Linked DNA regions of Homo sapiens: region 2 is linked to region 1. The links are contacts of gene promoters, found by promoter capture Hi-C in blood cells and fetal thymus (Javierre and others, 2016). All regions are on one chromosome and are shown on one strand. The core of a region is centred on a gene start or on the middle of the fragment in contact, and the rest is flanking DNA. Distances in the headings are between cores, read along the strand shown. Region 1 holds the start of DRC11 (dynein regulatory complex subunit 11). Region 2 overlaps ACKR3 (atypical chemokine receptor 3).

What was found. Contacts are between HindIII fragments. The CHiCAGO score rates a contact against its expected background, and 5 or more counts as called.
Region 2: a fragment that was not itself captured here is called in contact with the fragment with the promoter of DRC11 in region 1 in 1 of 17 cell types (total B cells); the score reaches 5.4 in total B cells.

Annotation. Positions count from the first base shown.
Region 1 is chr2:236,505,848-236,509,175 of GRCh38, forward strand. It overlaps DRC11 (dynein regulatory complex subunit 11), which reads right to left and starts at 1,629. Exons shown (of 19, transcript NM_024726.5): 1 at 1,410-1,629. The coding sequence starts at 1,420. RefSeq lists a silencer at 1,755-1,804. The HindIII fragment of the contact is 24,475 bases long and covers 1-3,328 here.
Region 2 is chr2:236,571,343-236,574,670 of GRCh38, forward strand. All of the region lies in intron 1 of ACKR3 (atypical chemokine receptor 3), which reads left to right. Among named protein-coding and RNA genes, the nearest start is that of ACKR3, 3.2 kb to the left of the region's middle. The HindIII fragment of the contact is 7,885 bases long and covers 1-3,328 here.

The sequences.
Region 1 (3,328 bases), core at 379-2,878:
ACAAACATTCTATTGTTTTCTGTCTTGGAGCCATGTCCTCTGCCTCTAGCTGCCAACATATTTCCTTTCCTCTGCAGCAAAACTCCTTTAAAGAGTTAGCTATGCTCACCATCTATAGTTTCTCTCCCCCTACATTCACTTGAGTAAGTCTTTCTATCTCATCATACCACTGAATCAGCTCCTGTCAAGGTCACTGGTGAACTCCACACTGCCAAATCAACAGTCAGTTCTCAGTTCTACCCCAACTTGTCTCAGGAGCACTTGATGGAGGAGAAAGAAGTTACTTCTCCTGGAAACACTATTATTTCTTCCACTCGCTTCTTCCTCATGGATCATGTCTTTGATTCCTTTGCCAGGTCTCCTCTTCCCCCAGCCTTACTGTGGATGATCCCAGGATCAGTCCTTACACCTCTTTATTAATATTCATTCTATGTCTCACAAAGACCATCACAGGCTGACAGTGAGCAAGTTTATATTTCAGACATGGGTCTCGCTCCTGAACCCAAGATCTGAATATTTTAATTGCCTATTTCATCTCCACGTGATGTCCAATGGGCACTTCCAACTCAATACGTCTTAAACAGAACTCTTGATCTTCCCCATTTCCAAACCCTGGCAAGCCTTTAACCTCTCTGCTCTTATTTCCTTGCCTAGAATACAGGGCACGTAATAGCAACAGTGCAGGCTGGAGCTACAGTGCCCGGCTTGGCACTGTTCACTTGCTGTGTGAACTACTTCACCTCTTCATCCCCAAGTTCCCTCATCTGTAAAATGGAAATAACAATATTAACAGCCCCTACGTTACAGGGTTGCTGTGAAGCGGTTAGAACAGTGTCTACAGGGTCAGCGCTGTAATACCTGTTGGAAATTATTCTTACGAAGACCAAATGAGGTAACTTTGTGCAAGTGCTGTGTAAACGACACAGTGCTAGGCACACACTTCTTTCAGTACCAATGCCACTCGAGTCTGTGAAAAGCAAATGTCAATAATGCTTTCCCAAGATCTTTCTAGACTTAAATTTCAGGACCTAGGTGTTTCCACAAAGCACCGTATTTGTTACCGTGAAAGATTAACAAAAAAAGCAGACAAAATGGCATAGTGCTTCTCAGCAATAGCCCCTAAGGGCTTGGCAGGTATACGGAAGACTGGGAGCTCATCCCCATGGGGTGGTGGGACGCGTAGGGGAGGGGGAGATCTAAGTGTATGATTTTCCTTGCTCACAAGAAGCAGATACTCTATCCCGAGGCATATTTGAATTTCCTAAAAGGAAAAAAAGTGGGGGAGAGGAGGGAAGTTGAGAGGGGAGGAGAAAAGAAAAGAAAAAAGAAAATAAGAGAAGCAGAAAGCAAGCCACCTTCTGGCTTGGGGAAGCCCACTCCATGGCTGTGGCTGGGAGCCCATCACTTACGCGTTCGACATTGCTGGCTACTTTCCCTCTTTTCCTCGCCCTCCGGGAAGCTCTTCCGTTGCTCTCTGAAGGACGGTGGCAGCAGGGGTCAGGGCACTACCAGGAGCTACAGAGGATTTGGGTGGGGGGTCTTCTGGAGGGAGAAACCAGGACTGCGAGAATCTTCTGCTTCGGGCAGGAAAAGGTGAGGCCGGGTTTGCTTCGCAGGCACGGAGCGCGCAGGCGCAGAGAGGTGTTTCACTCCTTCCCGTCGCGACCCAGAGACTCGCGAACCTCACTTCGGCCACTCAGGTGGGCGCGACGCGGCCCTAGCAACGGAAACGCCGCGCCTGCGCATTGCCTTCCGCCTGCCCCCTCCCCCCCCCCGCCCCCCGCATTCCGCGCCTGCGCCACCGCGGGAGGCCTGGGTGGGCGCAGCTGTGGGAGCCGGTCGGAGTCCGAGCGCTCCGTCGCGGGGCCCGGCCGCTTGGCGAGCCTGCTCCGGGCCCCAGCACTTAGCCTGTGGTCCTCCAGGCCGTCTTCCCGCTTTCCTGCTGGCCCCATTTTCATCCACTGTCAGCTCTGCGGCCTTGGGCAAGGCCCTTAATGATGGTGGTCTTCAGTTTTCCCATCTGTAAACTGGGTATAACAGTCGTTCGTTCAGAACTTTACTGGGCATCTATTCTGGGCCAAGTGCAGACTTAGATTCTGGGCACCCAAGACTTAGGCAGACGCGCCCTTCGGAGACTTAATGAGTATGAACTAAGGCGCGGGTGCGTTGTAAATGTAAAATGCAGTGTGGATGCTATTAACAGTTATCCGTAAGTCGCTATGAGTGTTGGCTTTCATTGCTCTTCTTTCTTCGACTTTAGTAACTGTTGAGGTTTATTTGCACATTTTAGACCCTGCAGCTCCTATTGGAACGCCAGGTTTAATGCTGTCAAAGGCGTGGAGAGGACATCCAGGTAAAAATTATAATCAGGATCACAAAACCTCTCCCCCACCATTACTAATGAAATGCGCAAAAGCATAGTAAAAGCCAGCCCTCCGCACCGCCTTCAAATAATGGAGCAAATTATTTCTCAGACGAGAAATTGAGTACAACCTTGTACCGTAAACTTCAAAAACTCAGTGAAATAGCAGCTTGCCGTGGAGAATGGTGTCCAGCCTCATCTCCACCCTCCCAAAGCCCTTCAGGGGGCAGAGACCAAGTAGACACAACACCAAGAATTCTCATTAATGCTTTTTGATGCAAAGAATACACACACTGAAAAGAAGGGGTATGAAAGGGTGAGCCGAACGAGGAAACACCTGGGGAAATCCGGCCAGATAAAACCATCCTGAGTGGAGGTCAATCCCTACCGCTCCCAGGACCTGAGCAGGGACAGGAGAAATCTCCAGGGCTTGCCTTTTTCTAGGTCCCTACATTGAATTGAGGCAAAGATTCAAAGTCAAAGGGCATGTTGTCACAGGAATAGGGCACACTCGTGACAAGAGTGGGAGGATGGTGGTAAAGGAGCTTATCAAAATCTCAGAAGAGAGCACAGAGCCTGGAAGTTGTGTGGATTCAAGGGAGCAGTCCTTATCCTAAATGTGTACTCAGGTTCCAGAAAAGCAGAGAAAAGTGCAGTATCTCAGCTCTGGAACTCAGATACAGTGAGAAGACAGTCAAAGAGAATTCGCCCACATTATATTTGAACAAACAGAACATTTTCAAAGAGCAACACGTGTTAAATAGGAATAAGACAGAAAGAAGCAGCATATCCACTGTCTAAAACCAAGACTTTCATAAAAGTAGAAGAAAAGAAAGGATTATAACATAGGCCAGACAAGTGAAAGAAAGTCTGGAGAAAATCTAACCAAATAAATAAAAGCAGAAAAATCTTTTTTGTTTGTTTGTTTTGAGATGGAGTCTCCCCCTGTCACCCAGGCTGGAGTGC
Region 2 (3,328 bases), core at 1-2,500, 65 kb after region 1:
GGGAAAGCTGCCCAGGATGGGGGTGGGAAAGCGAAGGAAGATGGAGAAATGGCTGCAGTTTGCTGCCCATCAGCTTTTCTCTTTTAAGGGGCAGACATTGCAGACGTAGTTTTAAAAAAGTTCCATAAAGCATCGCCAAGGCAGCATGCCTGTGCGACACACGCAGGGCTTTGGGGGTGTGTTTTCCCCGTATTAACAGCAAGTCGTTGAAGCGTTGAGAAGGTATTATGATTTCTAATCAGGCCCAGAACAGGCCAAGTATAGGCTTTCTGAATGAAAAAAAAAAAAAAAAAAAAAAAACCCAAAACAAAAAACCCTGCTTAATCAGGAACAGTGGCTTTTTGTGTGATCATTTTAGGGCGAGAGCTCCTGTTTTCAAGTCGACGTGAGGGAAATTGGTTGAAGTCACTCAAACCTGAGGCTGAAGGGCAGTCACTTTATAAACCTTAAGAGTAACCGAGGGGAAAGAAAAAGACCTCAAAGATTGCAAAACTTTAGATTTTTTTTTTGTGATTTTGTAGAACATGAGGGGAATCTGGGGCCAGAAGGCATTTGTACCTTTAAACCAGGCAATCAAATAACTTAGTTTTATTATTAGAAGCAAGAATAGTATTAAAACGCCTTCAATTGGATTGCACGTGTGTAGGCATAATTCAGGAAGAAACTAAAGATCGTGTCATGTCAAGTGTTACTAAAGTTCAGGAAGGAAAAGACAAAGCTCCAGGACACGTATTTTCTGTTGAAATAAAAGAAAGCAAGCCAGAAATAGACAGATCAGGACAGGGAGGCGTGCAGGCGGTGGCCCTGATTTTGAATATTTGATGGTTTCCTTCAGGGAATGTTTGATGCTTTTATCGACTAATTTGGAATTGAAAAAAACAAAACAAAACACTATTGCTTCAATATTAAAGTGATCAGGGAATTGCATAATTTTATGGTGACAATTTTAAAGAGCCACAGGTAGTTTTGGAAGCAGACTGTGTTTTGTTCCAGGCACTGAAAAAGTGGATGGGGGCCGAGACTATCTCAGGTGGCCTTGAACCACTGTTGGCAAAGGGACAGATAACGAGCCCAGGGCAGTGTGGGGGACTTTGCGTTTTGAAGTCTGGGTCAGCCAGATAGTAAGCATCTTTTGCTTTTCCTGCTATAACAGATATGTGGCCATCCTCCCTCAGTTGTATATGCAGAGCCTAAGTTTGCACAGTGTCCTCCTGGGAACCCCATTGTGTCTGGCTTAGGGCGGGGGTGAGGAGGCTCTCCTAGCCTGGCTGACCTCCCACTGCCTCGTCCTAGTCCTAAGCTGGGTGGGAATCAGGGCTCTGGTTACACTGGGCCGGCCCAGACGGCAGCCTTTGTGACGTGGGAATCTCTGGACCTGCTCTTGTGGGTATAGCTTTGCTTCCCTGTCGGGCAGCTGAGCACAATAGACCAGATCAGGTTTCTGGACGTGGGATTTATTTGATCCCCCAAATCCTTAAAGTGGACGAGGGTGTCCCACGTGTTCATGTGAAGTATGTCTAAGGACCCTGGGAAGAGGTGGACTGTATCTGAATCAGGATATAGAGTTTTCTGTAGTTATTATTTTTTGCGTTCTCAAGTAATTCAAAGCAGTTATGTACTTGCATAAAATAAGATCACTCACGGTCACTAGTGAATGTGTAGTCAAGACTGTTTTCCATTTGCTGGCAGCAGAGGGGACAGACAGCTACCCATTCTGCTATCAGCCCTAGCAGATAGTCACAGAGAGTCTGCCTGGGCCAAAGCTCCCCTAGGTTACTTGGTTGGTTTCCCCATAGATTCGATGTAGCATTGGTTAAAAACACACAGACACACAGACACACACACATGCACACACACACACACCCCACTCAATGATGCGCAGTTGCCTAATGGTTCTTCAGAGGTAGTGTGGATTCTCCTGATCTAACTTGCAGGCTCAGCGTAAGCGGGGCTGGCCTGGTGGAAGAGGTGTTATCTGCTCAAGGAGACCAGAGCGTTTGCTTTTGTAGCATGATTCCCGCTGGAGAGTCCCTGGAGATGTTGGAAAGGGGAAGAGAACTCTGTTCTTAGCCACAAGCGCACCATAACCCAGTCTCTTCACCCGGCCTGGCCTCAGTTTCCAGGTGTGCAAACAGTGAGGGCCACTGTCCCAGCTCTTGTCTGGGACAATACCAAGTTTCTTCATGAAATTCCCTTGTAGGACACAGGTCTCACACTGCAGAAAGCCAGTGAAGGAGGCAGAAGTCCTGCAGGGCCCAGATGGCCAGAGGGTCCCCCTTTTCGGAGCTGGTCCCGGGGCCCCAGGCCTGGCCTGAGTTATCTTATCTATACCACTGTAGAGGAGTGATGTGTGTGTAGCAGCCTGGTCTGCACCCAGCTACCAGACCACCCCACTGCAAAGCTGCCTGTGGGGTTCGTATCACTTCCATTCTCAAAGCCTCCTCTGCTCCAAAGCCATGGCCTTGCTCTAGACTGTCCTGGCTCCTGCATGGACAAGCCCTGGTCATATTCCTTGCCCACCCTTTAAGGCCCAACTCTTACCTCCATTTGCTCTTCGTGGAGAGTCCTTGCCTCAGCCAGGCTGGGTGACTCTACCCATGGCTGTGCCTTCCTGGAACATCCTTGATCACCCCTACCTCCTTGAAGTCCCCCATAAGCCACCAGAGTAGAAACCCCTCATTTTCCTGCTGAAGGGGCATGCACCACCTTGCTCATGCCTGGGGGGTGATGGGCCTGCGTGCCTTCCCAATTAGCCGGCGGGGTCTCGGGGGTTGGGGGGAGATGTTTCTGATTTGTTGTCCTCACGTGCCCCAGAGCAGTGCCTCCTGGAACAAGAGGCTCAGTCCGTCAACACCAGCTCGGTGACGATTTCAGAAAAGTCTCTCCTGGACGCCCGTCTCCGCTGCTGGCCACAGTCGCTGGTCTTGGTGGGGCACGATTAACTGCTGGCTCATTGAGTACCTACTATGTGCAGCTGTAGCTGTATAGCTGTATAGCTGTAGCTACACAAAGTTACAGAAGACTTGGTGGGGGGTGCGGGGCCTGGTAGGAATGAGGTGGAGGGGCAAGAAACCTGAACAACGTGATGGTACAAAAGCCATTCCAGAATAGAGATGTGCAGTGTGGGGCCAGGAGAAGGTGGGAGAATCAGAAGGGCAGAGGGCATCAGTTGGGAAGAGTCTGTGGTTGGAGACTGCAAACATGTGGAAGGGAGTTTGGAGGGACACTGGCCAGGTGCCTGAACACGTGGCATTCTCTGGAAGGAACTAACCAGCGTGAGGACATGCTGATTGCATACTCAGCCACCACCCATGAAGGCTCTAAACCT